Regions from separate parts of the Homo sapiens genome. Here all the other regions are linked to region 1. The links are contacts of gene promoters, found by promoter capture Hi-C in blood cells and fetal thymus (Javierre and others, 2016). All regions are on one chromosome and are shown on one strand. The core of a region is centred on a gene start or on the middle of the fragment in contact, and the rest is flanking DNA. Distances in the headings are between cores, read along the strand shown.

Region 1 (4,659 bases), core at 1,220-3,719:
GAACTAATTATCAACATTTTCTGAGATATAAAGGGACAAAGGGGACATGTTAAACAGCTGCTTATCTCCCAGTTCTGGTTTCCCAGGGGATCGGGTCCCATTAATTCTTCCATCGCTTATTCAACCACTCAATACAGACGCTCATGTATGTGCATGTTCATTTTACCTGAATTTTTGTATAAATACAACATACACACATACAGAGCACACACCCACATACACACACACACAGACACAGACTTGCCTCCCCTACTTCCTCACTTACCACATTGTTACAAATATCTTTGTCAAAGAGTATGAGGAAGCTGAGGGTGATATCACCATGAAGACAGTGGAATGAACTAACATGTTCTAATCACACTGGGAAATAGTGACTCAGGAGGTTCAGGCCCCAAACGTCATCTTCTTTGGACCTATGTTTGTCTGCAGTCATCTTCAAAAAGGCTACAAAAATTCTACAGTCCTTGAGGTCATGGGCTACTTATTATTCACCTCTATATCCCTATATTTGGACATACATGATTCAAGAACGTTGTAGGCTTTCAAAGAATGCCTTTTGAATTCACTGCTCTGACCACACTGTTGACTTACTTTATCCTTCAGGTAAAAGCTTCCTGAGAGCAGGAATCAGATCTGATAATAGGATTGCATAACTAGGAGAACAGAATCCCTCAGTTAGAAGCTGACAATGGGAAACTATGCTTTCTCCGCATCCTCCCCTCCCCCACTAAGTAGGCATTAGGCAATGTGAAGGCACAGTCTGTTTCTGTTTTAATCAGAGGTGTGAATATCTATTTTTTTCAATTCTAATTTTTAACACCTTTATTGAGATGTAATTAACATATTTGTAGTTCATTTGTTTAAAGTGTAAATTCAATGGTTTTCAGTATATTCACAGAGTTGGACAATCACCACCATAATTTTAGAACATTTTCATTACTTCACAAAGAAAACCTGTATCCATTGGCAGTAACTTCTCAATATCTCCCAGCCCGCTAAAGCACCTGGAAGCCACTGATATTTCTCAGAGGACAGGCATAAACATAAAAGGAGATACAGGGAACAGAATCTCATCCAGGCTCTTGTTCCTCGGATGCCCTGAGTCAGCTCTTCAGGGGTCCAGCCTGGGAGAGGCTGTAACTGGCTAAAGCCTCATCCCCTTTCTATTTCCAGAGATTTGCCTACTCTACACATTTCATATAAATAACATCATACAATATGCAGTCTTTTGTGACTGGCTTCTTTCACGTAGTGTAATGTTTTCAAGGTTCACACTCAATGTATCTGTTTAAACTAAATGAATAAATGACTGGGTAACTCTGTCTAGTGCAACCCTGAATCAGAACTCTGAATAACTAGATTCCTGGCTGACCCTCTACTTCCTGGTAGGAAAGGAGTTCCCTCTGCATAGGAGCCCCAAGAAATGATGTCTACTTCCCAAGACAGGTTTCAAATAATCTAAGTGTCTGGTGGAGTTAAGCTCTCTGAGGGTAAGGGCTCTATATGGGCAATTAATGACACATAAGACCGGGGCAAGTATCCAATACATGGCATTAGTTTTTCTATTAAACATATATTTATTAAGGGTCTATCAGGCACAAAATGTCATACTTAGCTCTTTCTTGCTTCTCACTTTATATTACAAACAGCTCAGTGAGATAGGTATATCTCACTGATAGGTTTATAATGGGCATTATATGTGAGAACTGATACTCACAGTGAGTATCATAGTAATACTCTAGCAATTATTGATAATTGTTACAGCAACTTTCAGAGATTACCCAGTTATCATATGCAAGTTTTCTGATTCCAGTAGCACATTCAATACAAGTCCTCTGACTGAAGGAAATGTTTAGATTTTAGAGGGAATTGTTTATTCTCAATCATTCTCCTTGCTTTAGGTGACAGAATCAACTCAGATTTAATCCACCGAATCTGCTTGCCATGGTGAGTCGGAGGAAAAGCAGAAACACAGAGGCCAGGAGGAAGGGCTGAGAGCCTAGGCAAGGGAGGGATGCCTAGAAAAAGCCAAGGCTGTAGAAGCCCTCTGGGATGGCTGGATCCACAGCAGGACATGGAAGAGAAACTGCTCAGGGTGGAGGGAGTCATAATGGAACATTTCCACAAGGTCAGGGAAAGCTGTGGCTCAGAACTGATGTTTCCTCAGAGGACATGCATTAAAAAAATGCAGGGAACAGAATCTTGTCCAGGTGTGGGTCCCTTGGGTACCCTAAGTTAACTCTTTAGGGTTCCCACCTGGTGGAGGCTCTGACTGGCTACAGCCTCTCTAGACTGCAGCCCCAGAGAGGAGTCCTGGAAGCTCCTGAGGCCTCTTTGGATTGCAGGGACTAAGAGGCAGGAGAATGTCAGGAATGACCCAGCGTGTGCCTGGTTGTGCAAGAGCCACCTCCTGCTCTTTCCAGAGCCAAGCCTGGGCCCTATAAAAGACACATCCAGCTTCAGCATCTCATCTGCTCTGACTCCCCAGGGACGTGTCTGTGCTCCTGCGTGTGACCAGGGTGAGTGGCAACCTGGGATACCAGAGGGGTATGAGCAAGGCAGAGGGATGGGGAGGATGGAGGTAGGCTGGAGAAAGAGTTGTGTGCTTGTGTTCTGCCATACTGAGCAGGAATGGGACTCAGCCTGCCTCGAATCTGTTGAGGCTCTGAGGCCTACCGGAGCTCATATAGGTGGGGAAAGCTAACTGTGCACATCTTTTCCAATTCTGTGTTCAGTGACTTCATGTTGGTAACTTCAAAACTGCTGTGTTGGGCATATTTACACCATGGAAACTGGCAAATACTTCAAGCCAGGCTCTTTTATCTGGAGGTTTCATTGCAAAATATTTTCCAGAGGACCCCTTGGTATGTCCTGCAACACCCAGCTTGTCCTTAGGGCTTGTATTAAAGGAATAGGTACTTCAGGGAGCTGTGAATACTCTATTCGGGCTTGTGAGGATAGAGCAATCGCAGTTTCCCCTGAAAGGAAGAGTAAGAAGCTCATTCTGTTGATTTTTTATCTACGTACTTTTATCTAGAGGAAAGATTCAAGTTGTTTCTTTCAGGTTACTGATGTGATTGTATTATCTAAATATCATTCTTCTTCTACACATGCATTGATTTTAGAAGAGGTATAATATGATCCTTGGTTTGAAATATTTAAAGAGTTTCATTATTATCTTTCAGGTTGACTAAACTCCTGCCAGCATGTCTTGCCAGCAAAACCAGCAGCAGTGCCAGCCCCCTCCCAAGTGTCCTCCCAAGTGTACCCCAAAATGTCCACCTAAGTGTCCCCCCAAATGCCCACCACAGTGCCCAGCTCCATGTTTCCCTGCAGTCTCTTCTTGCTGTGGTCCCAGCTCTGGGAGCTGCTGTGGTCCCAGCTCTGGGGGCTGCTGCAGCTCTGGGGCTGGTGGCTGCTCCCTGAGCCACCACAGGCCCCGTCTCTTCCACCGGCGCCGGCACCAGAGCCCCGACTGCTGTGAGAGTGAACCTTCTGGGGGCTCTGGCTGCTGCCACAGCTCTGGGGGCTGCTGCTGACCTGGGCTACAGAAGAGCTCTTGGGACTGAATGGCCAAGAACCTGCTACGGCCTGATGGATACTCTTTCCACTTCCTCTCATTCCATTCATTGGTTGGCAGAGACCACAAAGACTCATGGGGCTTTCCTGGAAGAACTTCGTGCTTGATGTAACACCCCAATTGCAAGTCTTCTTTTCCTCCTTTACCTCATGTTATAATAAAGCTCTGATCTCTGACTCACTAAATGTCTTGGTCATTCTCTTCTCTTCTGAGATTTCAAATGTCCTCCAAAGGTCAGGGCCTCAGAGTAATTTTCTTCATGAGGCTAGGACAGGACATGAGTAGGTGATACATGAAAAGCTGCTCTGAGGAACTGATTCCCCCAGATGCTGAGTGAATGGAGCTCCAAGAGGGTCACCTCTGGCTATGGTAGCTTTGCCTTTCTCTCCACTAAGCCAGACACATGTTCTAATTTTCTGTGTAATCCAGACGTTGGGAAGGTTGGGAAGCTCTGCAGACTTGTTCTTCTCTAGGGAGAAGAACACATCCCTATGAAGCAAAACTTTCCTGCCCTTAGAATCAATAGTTGGATAAAATGCTTGAAACAGATGTTGAGACCCTTCCTCCTGTAAAGTACAGCCCATGGTCACTCAGCTTCTTTTCATGAGTCTGGTTAAGATCAGCCTTTTGACTTGCTGCCTTGGACACCTGGCTTCAGTTCCTCACAGTGTTAGATCTGAGTCCCAGGATGCTGTCCTGCCACTTGGCTCACGTGCTGGGCAGGGGAGTGATGAGTGATGGAGATATTAAGTGAAAAAACATGGAAGTGTTGCTTAGAAGATACAAAGAATATAAGGAACATAAGAATACAAAGAATACAAAACGCTGTATGAAAGAATAGACCTTTCCTCCTTCAATACTTATCTTTTTTGCCAAGCCACCCTCAGAATGTGAGGGGGGAGAAGCGCCAGGATGGGTGGGGCATCTTAAGTATTACTAGAGGAAGGGGAGGGAAGCAGGGACACAGCAGGGGAAACAAGGGCTAGTGCTTCTTAGGTTCAGGCTGACAGGTGTCGACATGAAGATAATGGATTCAGCAAAGACGGATTTTGACAGAGATGGAGCCTCTTATTAATATG
Region 2 (4,659 bases), core at 1,054-3,553, 170 kb after region 1:
TTTTCACTTACAAGCTTGTGTTACCTATTAATTTGTCTGTATTCCCTCTGGAGAGTGAAAGCTTTGAAACATAATATAGACATCTTATTCTTTCTTGTATCCAGTACATAGTTGGGACTTAATAAATATCAAATCACATAATTATAGACACAATCTGAACCAGGAAGAGAAGTGGAGTGGGATTAGAATAAGAACATTACATTTCTGTGGTCCTGATTTAAAACTGGCTGGACTTTTAAGTTTATCTGGAAGACAGTGCAGCTCAGGGGCCTCAAACAGGCTCACTTAATGAGCTAGGCAAATCTAGATGCTGGACACACTCCATCCTATATGTGATGAAATTCACTGTACTGAAAAGGAGGGGGCTAAGAGATTTCTGTGGGCAATTTATTATGGGAGGTGGTCTGGGAGAGATATAGAAGGGGCAGGAAGTGTAGTTTGCCTAGGGCAGAGCCTCCAGAAAGAACCCTCAGCCCTAGGCAGAGACAGTAAGGGTTGGGTACTTGCTAGTTAACTTCAAAAAAATGCATTTGTGATGTGTGAGGTCTCTGAAGCATGTGTTTAAGTGGTGCAGGTCTTGGGTGGGGAAAAGGAGCAACTGGTGCATTGAGACCAGTGTTACTTTGCCTTCCTGCTAATGCTTAGTGCAAGGGAAGCACTTCTGAGGCACCATCAGAGTTATTTCTGGTGTCTGAGGGAAGAAAAGAGGAGAAAGAGAAGGAGAGAGAAAAGGGAAAAGGAAGTAAAGGAAGATGGGGTCTATCCCTGAGGCTGTCTAAATCAGGCACTCTCTCTCCAGGGCTCTGCTCTAACAGAGTGAGCGAGGTTTCATACCATTCTTCCACCTGCTGTTTCACTCACAAAGATCTTCTCTTCCTCCATCCAAACTGCATCTCAAAGTTTTCCCAGATGAAGCAATTGAAACCTGATGATCCTGCCCTGCTGGATTTTGGGATCCAATAGCTGCTCCTTTTCTGGCCTTGTCCTATTTTCCACCCTGGTCTTCATACCCTCTCCCATACCCCAACCCTACTCACCTTTGTCCTATACATGATTTGAAGGCCTTTGAGGACTGCCCCTACAGTCAGAATGTTCCTTGTAATTGCTCATCTTTTTATTTACCCAACTGTTTCCTGAATACCTACTGTGTGTCAGGCATCAGAAATACAGAGGCAGGTGAGGCACACTCTTGAGCAGCAGGGAGTTTCATCAGTGCCTTTTAACTTAGCTGGGCACACCAGGAGCGATTCTGAGATGGAAGCATCCAGAGGTGAGGGACTGTGTTTAGAGAATGTTCCCAATTTAAGCACTGCCAAAACATGATTATCTCAATTTTCATGAAAGCTAAAGAAGAACTTTTCACTCTGTGGAAGGCTTTTCCACAATGTCCCTTGATAATTCCAAGAACAGCTCCCCTTTTGCATTTAAGAGACAGCAGGTGTGTGAAGGTTTTGCTTCCCACCCTCTGCTCAGCCTATTGTGTAAGGTGAGGTCCACCCACAGAGTTCCCTGTAGTATTTATGAAAGGGTGTTCACAAATGCCTTAGGGGAGAATGATGGAAACAAGAAGTCAAGGTCTCGTCCACAAAACAAAATGAGTTGGGCTTTATTTTATTCCTGTTTTTTTCTCCTGAAACACAAAGTCTTTTCTAATGGCACATAGACTGTTTCATTCAACAAATACTAATGAGTATTTTCTTTGTGTCAGGAACAACATCAGGCTCTAGGAATGCAGAAGTGATAAAGGCACTGTCATCAAATAACAGTTTAATAGGTGAGATAGGATATGTATCTTGGTCACACGACCCAAAGCAATAGTAAAGGCTGTGACATGTATCTATAAAGGTCAGAGGATGAAGGACTCATGTGTGGCTAGAGCAATGGGCCAATCTCCACAGAGGTGATGACACGGAATGGGATGCTGACAGTCATGGATGATGGGTGGGGAGTAGACAAGGAAGGTCTTCCTCAGACCCTGGGTGATGTCGAACCTGATTTTTCCCTCCAATCCTACATAGAATTCAACAGCAGCTGCAACCCGCCCAGCCTCCCAAGGACATCATCCAGATTAGCCAGTGTACCCACTTCTGCGTAGGCCAATCTGAAGGCCCCAGCCTTCTGCTCACTCACGCACCTGCAGATGCCTTTGAACCACATCCCAGCTACATGTAGCTGAGGAATCTAGCACTGGGAATTGTGAAATACCCAGATCAATCATCCACTCCATGGCTCTCCTCCAATGACATGTGGCCTGGAGGCTTCAACTGGAGGATATATAAAAGAGCCTCTTACTTCCTGGCAACACAAGGCCTCCAGACTCCTCCTGGGATAACTTGTCCACACATCTTCCACTAGGGTAAGGCTACTTCTGGCTGAGGAGACACTTGGATGTAGCTCAAGTGCTGCTTAGGCAGTCCTGATCTCTCCTCTCGTCTCTTCCCAGGGAGCTGAAAAGCCAGGTAGGAGATGCTTGGGGTAGAAAGAAGGGAAGAGAAGTGGATCCCTGCAAAAGAAAGACCCCAAATAATCTAACATGGGAGAAAGCCATAGAAGTTAGAGGGCCAGAAAAGCAGAGATGGGACAGTCAGACTTAGGAGTCTGGGGACAGAATAAGACAGAGTAAAGAAAGAGCAGAGACTTGGCTCTCCTTTGCACTTAACCAGGTGGACATTGGGCTGGGAAAAGTAAACTGTCAGCTCAACTAAGTACAATTTGTCTTTTTTTTTTTTTAAGGAAGCATATATCATTAACATGGTTATTAGTAAGTGAGTCCCCTGGGAAGATTTACTCCCAAATATTTAGTCCTTTCAAGTCCGTTTTTCTCCTCCTGAGATGGAGTTCAGTGGGTTGTAAATGCTGGACTTCATTTTTGACAGCTCCAGTTTGTGGAGGAGAGAAACAGAAGCCCAAGCTGCCTGGGTCCCTGATATAACTATTTTTCTTCCAGATTCGACCTGGTAGCCAAGCAATGTCACAGCAGAAGCAGCAATCTTGGAAGCCTCCAAATGTTCCCAAATGCTCCCCTCCCCAAAGATCAAACCCCTGCCTAGCTCCCTACTCGACTCCTTGTGGTGCTCCCCATTCAGAAGGTTGTCATTCCAGTTCCCAAAGGCCTGAGGTTCAGAAGCCTAGGAGGGCTCGTCAAAAGCTGCGCTGCCTAAGTAGGGGCACAACCTACCACTGCAAAGAGGAAGAGTGTGAAGGCGACTGAGCCCAGAAGAGTTGAGGCACAGGTGCAGTTACTCTCTCCCTGCCCCACCTTTGGGTACTAATTCCCCCTTGGAAAGCCAGGCCCTCAACCTCTCATTTGGACTGAGAAACACTTCCTGATCCCCAGCTCTAGAGAAGCGAGAACTAGGCTGAGCCACGCTGCTACTGCTCTCTTCCATTCACCCCTTCAGCTCAGCAACAATAAAGCTGCTTTACTTGGAGCCCTGACTTCTGTGAGTTCTTGAGACCCCTGCTCAGATGTACTGAGACCCCCGCTTCAACCCAAGTGCATGGTGCTTCTCCTCCTTCCTCTTAAGACAGCTGATAGTATTTTTAAGAAGCAGATGTTCTGGGATTTATGTCCCAGTTTCCAGCAGCCTCACAGCCATCAACCCATGTCATTGCATGATTCTAGCACCAAAGACTACAATAAACATATGTTGAGCACCTACTGTGTACTGGCCTCTGTGTTTACAGATGTAAGTGGGAAATTTGTCCCTGCTCTAGAAAGCTTATAATCCAGTAGGAGATGCAATGGACACTTCAGATAGAAACAAGTGGATTAGTAAATATCATTTTAAGCTGATTAATTTACTCATTTTTATCTCTCATTTGTGTTCAAAAGAACTTAAAGCAGAAATTTAAAAAGTACCTTAGGTCAAAGACAGCAGAGAGAGGAGAACCATTCTGATGGTGTGGATCAAATGTGGTTTCCTAGGCCTTGGAAGGAAAGAGAGTATCCCACTTGGGAGTGGGGAGAAGAGGCTCCCAGACCTCTAAAGATAGCAGACTTTGGTGCTAGGAGGTGCAGTGAAGAGGAAAGTTCATCCAGGTGGAAGATCCAGCATAAACAAATGCATAACAAGGGTGGTACTTGCCAATGGTGTGTATTTCAATTTGGCTGGAGTGCCAGGTGTGAGATGAGAGATATGACACAGTTCATAACCCCAAGTCTTCATGATAATTCAAACCAGCTGAGTTTACTGAGCTTTAGGTATCAAACACCAGCTACCAAAAGATCATACCTCTGGGAAAAGTCTGGGCCCAAACCCCAAGTCTAGTAGTCTGAGATGAGGGAAGCATGACATAAATTACACAGACTTGAAGGGGACTTGAAGCTCAACTATGATGCATATAAATATAAGTTTATGTAAATAATTTTGTTGATCTGCATTTTTGGCAAGACATTAAAAGCATTACTTTTTTTAACCAAATATCCAACTCAATAGATTGTATTGACCAGGCTCAGAACAGAATTTCAACCTGTAATATCCAGTATATGGGATTCTCATTTTCAGAGCTTAGTAATTCTCCTCATTGCTGGGACATGATGTCACCTTTGTGATGACACACATCTATATGCAGATATGTATCATGGTTATATATAATTATAATTTCATATGCATGATTTTTCTCATTAAACAAATGACACACACTTGTATAAAGATT
Region 3 (4,659 bases), core at 937-3,436, 160 kb before region 1:
CACTGGTAAGTGGGGAGTTGGGATTCAAACCCAGAGACTGGATTTAGAACTCACGCTCCCAGCCGGGCACGGTGGCTCACACTTGTAATCCCAGCACTTTGGGAGGCCGAGGTGGGTGGATCACGAGGTCAGGAGATCAAGACCATCCTGGCTAACACAGTGAAACCCCGTCTCTACTAAAAATACAAAAAGTTAGCCGGGCGTGCGTGGTGGCAGGTGCCTGTAGTCCCAGCTACTTGGGAGGCTGAGGCAGAAGAATGGCGTGTATCCAGGTGGCAGAGCTTGCAGTGAGCAGAGATCGATCGCACCACTGCACTCGAGCCTGGGTGACAGAGCAAGACTCAGTCTCAAAAAAAAAAAAAAAGAACTCACGCTCCCAACCACTTATAAATAGATTCTGTGCCCTTCATGAAATGTTCTTATGGCTACCAAAAATAATGCTTCCAAACAACGAATAACATGGGAAATGTTGATGTTAAAATGTTAAGTGAAAAGTTAGTAAAGTAAACTCATGTAAGTACTATGAGAAAGACTATGTAAAATACAAACAAAACTCAAATAACAACAACAACAACAAAACCACTATATATAGAAAAAAATGACGGGAAGGAAAATAGCAAAATAGTAACCATATTTTAGGGATGGGATTATAGGTGATTTTAAAATTCTTCCTATTTTTTGGTGTTTTTAAATAATGAGTATGCTTTCTTTATAATCTCATTCCCTAGTGACAAGCAAATACTCTTAATATTTTGCTGTAAGAAAACATCGAGTCTAAGTTCTGATATCATAAAAATTAGTTTTGGTTTCAAAATTGGCAGGTCAGTAATTTGAAATTTAGCATATATTTTCTCATGGAAATAAGGATAGCCATAGTGATTAGTTTTTTCTTTTTTAAACTTGCAGTTCTAGGAACTGTGCTAAGAACTTCATCTGTATTTCTTTATTCAGTGGATTAGGAATGTTTTCAGCCCCCTTTTCCAGTGATGGTTAAGTAACTTGCCAGAGGTTGCACAGGTGGAGAGAGCAAGGGTGGGAACTGATGCTGGATGTCCCTCTCCAGGGTCTGTGTTATAACTGGGCTGATGCTTCTCACTGCAGCCCATTTCAAAGAGCATGGAGCTAAGGTACTGCCTTTTTCTCCCAGTCTTATTTTCTCTCACTGCAGCTTTCATTGTGAATATGCCATATTTTGGCCACCCTTTCCAGCTAAGTCAATTTTGATAACTATCCTGGGGACCCAACTTTCCCTCAGAATATTGTTTGCTGAGAAAATGTTTTGGATCCCACCATGGGCTTTTAAAACCTATATACTCCTCCTCTTCACCTCTCCATCCAAAGATTAATCTTCTCCTGAGGTCCTTCCCAGGTTGGATGCTCTTCTCTTATGAATGACCAGAACTGGTGCCTCACTTCTGGAAACCTCCAGATGAGTGGAGAGCTTTTGCTCCACCCTCAGTATACACCTGGTCTTTGCTGCCTCACCTCGAGCTGGCCAAGGGCACCTTCTTTAACACGAGTAAATAAGCCATTCCTAGACTTCTGCCCTTTTAAAGGCATTGTTAGTGCTGAATCGGTACTGTTTGTGAGCAGTTTTGGAGCATCAAATTCAGGCAAGGAGAGAAGCCCAACCACCCACACTGTCAGCATTAGATCTGCCTAAAATAACATCACTGAGATATCAAACCTTCCTTGTTCTGGTTATGGCATCATCTAGAAATGAAAAAAAAATCATGTTAGATTATTTGCTTGGGCCTACAATTTTATTTTGGATCTCTATTATTATTCTAAAAAGGGCCATTTAATTTCCATCTTGGGAATTTTCTCCTTCAGTTCCTATACCAAAGAGAAAACAGAACTTCTGTTCATTCCAGAGGTGTAGAGCCGTATTGGCCCAGCTCAGAAAATAGAAGGCATAGCAGAGCTGCCTGTGAGATAGATAGGTGCCATGTGCAATTCACAGAGCTCCCTCACCATCCTAGAGGCCTGCAGTTCTCAGGGGATCTTCCTGTGGGTTAATACTTGAGATGCTTATGCAGGGAGGAACTGGGTCCCTGGGATGCGAGGGGAGGGAGTCACCCATGCCTTTATGAAAGATGCTTCTAGCGTCCCGCACATGGTCTGCACCTCCTGATGCTAGGTCAGGACTGAATTGTATAAAAGGCAGAAGCTTCTGACAGCACCTCAGTCTACCTGTCTCCTGAGTGATCTGCTGCAGTGCCTGAACCAGGTAGAGTGCTTCTCAGGACCAGGATGAACTCTTGGTGCTGGTGTTTTGGGCAGAAAGAGCCCCTGGGTGGAGGTTGAGGCCATTCTTGAAGAAAGACAAGGATAAAGAAGGATTTTGGAGGGGAAGGTTCTTCTGGAAGGGGAGGGTGGAAGGTAGGTAAAAGGAATGAAGGACTGATGCCTTTCTGAAGTTCCAAGTTATTCATTTGAAAATATGGAGTTACTAGGTGGAAATCATTTGTATCATTCTTGTTACTGGTCTTGGGAGACTGGGTTTTTAAAATCTGGTTCATCTTAGGCCAGGAGTAGTGGCTCATGCCTGTAATCCCAGCACTTTGGGAGGCTGAGGTGGGCGGGTCAAGAGGTCAGGAGTTCGAGACTGACCAACATGCTGAAATCCCGTCTCTACTAAAAACACAAAAATTAGCTGGGTGTGGTGGTGCACACCTGTCTGAGGCAGGAGAATCACTTGAATCCGGGAGGTGGAGGTTGCAGTGAGCCGAGATAGCACCACTGCACTCCAGCCTGAGTGACAGAGTGAGACTCCATCCCAAATAATAATAATAATCATAATAATAAATTCTGGTCATCTTAGAGATAAAATCTTGTGAAATTATAGTTCAATTTTAAGGGCAAGGAAGTGACCTTGGGCTTGTATTGTCTTTCAGCTTTATTCAGCTTCTACAGAGATGTCCTGCCAGCAGAGCCAGCAGCAGTGCCAGCCTCCTCCCAAATGTACCCCTAAATGCCCTCCCAAGTGTACTCCTAAGTGTCCTCCCAAGTGTCCCCCAAAATGCCCTCCCCAGTGTTCAGCCCCATGCCCACCTCCAGTCTCTTCCTGCTGTGGTTCCAGCTCTGGGGGCTGCTGCAGCTCTGAGGGTGGTGGCTGCTGCCTGAGCCACCACAGGCCCCGCCAGTCCCTCCGACGCCGACCTCAGAGTTCCAGCTGCTGTGGCAGTGGCAGTGGCCAGCAGTCTGGGGGCTCCAGCTGCTGCCACAGCTCTGGGGGCTCTGGCTGCTGCCACAGCTCTGGAGGCTGCTGCTGACCTGGGCCATGAGGAGCACGGAGGAGAAGGACTGGCAGATCCCAGGTGCTGAAGATGTGTGTCAGCCTGAGGCTTCTTTTCTCTCATTTCCCATGGAAGGACTTCGGAAATGCCTTAAGTTCCCCTCTTTATCCTGCCCATGTTCACTCCATTGTAGGGTTGAAGTCTAGCTTGTGATATTTTCTGGCCTGGCTTTCCCTCTCAGACATAGCTCTTTGGAGAACTAGGTGTTGTAATTCAGTTATGAAGCTATTTTCTCTGTAACAATAAAGCTTTTTATTCCTGATATCACTGCCTCCTGATTTCATTGTTTGCCTCTCCCACTCCCTACCTGCTGCATCAAGCCATCTTCCCTTCCCTTCTCTTAAATGCAAGCGAACACTTTACAAACTTGTTTAGGAAGCACATTTTGGCAGTGAAGCTACTTAGGCCTCTGGAAAACAATATTTCCTTCTATGCACTGGATTCTGGAACTTTAAGCTTGAAGGAAAGAATAATGTCTGAGACCATTACGCCAGACACAAGATTGTATGAGGAGAGCCAGGAATGGGTTTGAAGAGAAGAGGATGGTTGTACTCAAAAGGTTCAGGTTCTGAGAGGGTTTCCTTCAAGCATGGGTCACAGTTTGAAAAATTGCTTGTCCCCATTCATGGGGAATAAGATTGCCTGAAGTGCTCATCCTGGGCTCTAATAAATGGACACTCTTTACTTTTCTGATTATTATAAGCTCAGGTGTTTCCATCAGTTGGCTAGAGGGAGAGCTGGGTGGGCAGTGAGTGAGTTTTGGAGGCAGATATGAAACGTCTGAGCACATTTTCCCTGCATGCTGAAATCCTGGATTTGAATCTGGGTAAAGAACTGAGAAAGACACCCTTCTTTGCAAAGACTGTCTCTATGTGGTTGGGACGTACGTGTGTGTGTGTGTGTGTGTGTGTGTGTGTGTGTGTGCAGTGAGAGGTATAAGAGTACAGGGGTTTTGGTCCCTGTGTTGGGTTTTCCAAGCAACATTTCTTTAGGAATGGGCTGGTTCCTTCAGGAGACACTCATAATGTACCTAGAAAAGATAACTAGAAAAGTTAATTCCAAATCAGCCTTTAATATAAAAGATAAACAATTGATGCCTCCTTTGATAAGAGTTAATAGCGATAAATAAAGTAAGCTGGTTTATGAGATCATAGGATGCCCACAGAATGAGTAGGCACTTGCCCAGATTATCTCCTTATACTGATTCCTACCAAACGTTCTTCATTCTTTTTTTTTTTTTTTAAAAGAACTTTGCCCATTTTCCCAGAGGAGATCCTGCCTCTGTCTTGTTATTTCATTACTTCCTTCTCTGTTCTAATATTGACTTTACTTTTTGGAATGTCTCACCTATACTCACCAA

Evidence for each region. Contacts are between HindIII fragments. The CHiCAGO score rates a contact against its expected background, and 5 or more counts as called.
Region 2: a contact is called between the fragment with the promoter of LCE6A here and the fragment with the promoter of LCE2C in region 1, in 9 of 17 cell types (non-activated CD4 T cells, endothelial precursors, activated CD4 T cells and 6 more). The highest score is 10.3, in non-activated CD4 T cells.
Region 3: the fragment with the promoter of LCE5A here is called in contact with the fragment with the promoter of LCE2C in region 1 in 12 of 17 cell types (total B cells, fetal thymus, total CD4 T cells and 9 more); the score reaches 15.7 in total B cells.

The regions. Positions count from the first base shown.
Region 1 is chr1:152,672,810-152,677,468 of GRCh38, forward strand. LCE2C (late cornified envelope 2C) reads left to right here and starts at 2,470. Exons shown (of 2, transcript NM_178429.5): 1 at 2,470-2,519; 2 at 3,186-3,760. The coding sequence starts at 3,207. The coding sequence ends at 3,539. The HindIII fragment of the contact is 8,836 bases long and covers 609-4,659 here.
Region 2 is chr1:152,840,553-152,845,211 of GRCh38, forward strand. LCE6A (late cornified envelope 6A) reads left to right here and starts at 2,304. Exons shown (of 2, transcript NM_001128600.2): 1 at 2,304-2,459; 2 at 2,948-3,431. The coding sequence starts at 2,969. The coding sequence ends at 3,211. The HindIII fragment of the contact is 3,660 bases long and covers 60-3,719 here.
Region 3 is chr1:152,508,617-152,513,275 of GRCh38, forward strand. LCE5A (late cornified envelope 5A) reads left to right here and starts at 2,187. Exons shown (of 2, transcript NM_178438.5): 1 at 2,187-2,382; 2 at 2,898-3,561. The coding sequence starts at 2,919. The coding sequence ends at 3,275. The HindIII fragment of the contact is 1,377 bases long and covers 2,169-3,545 here.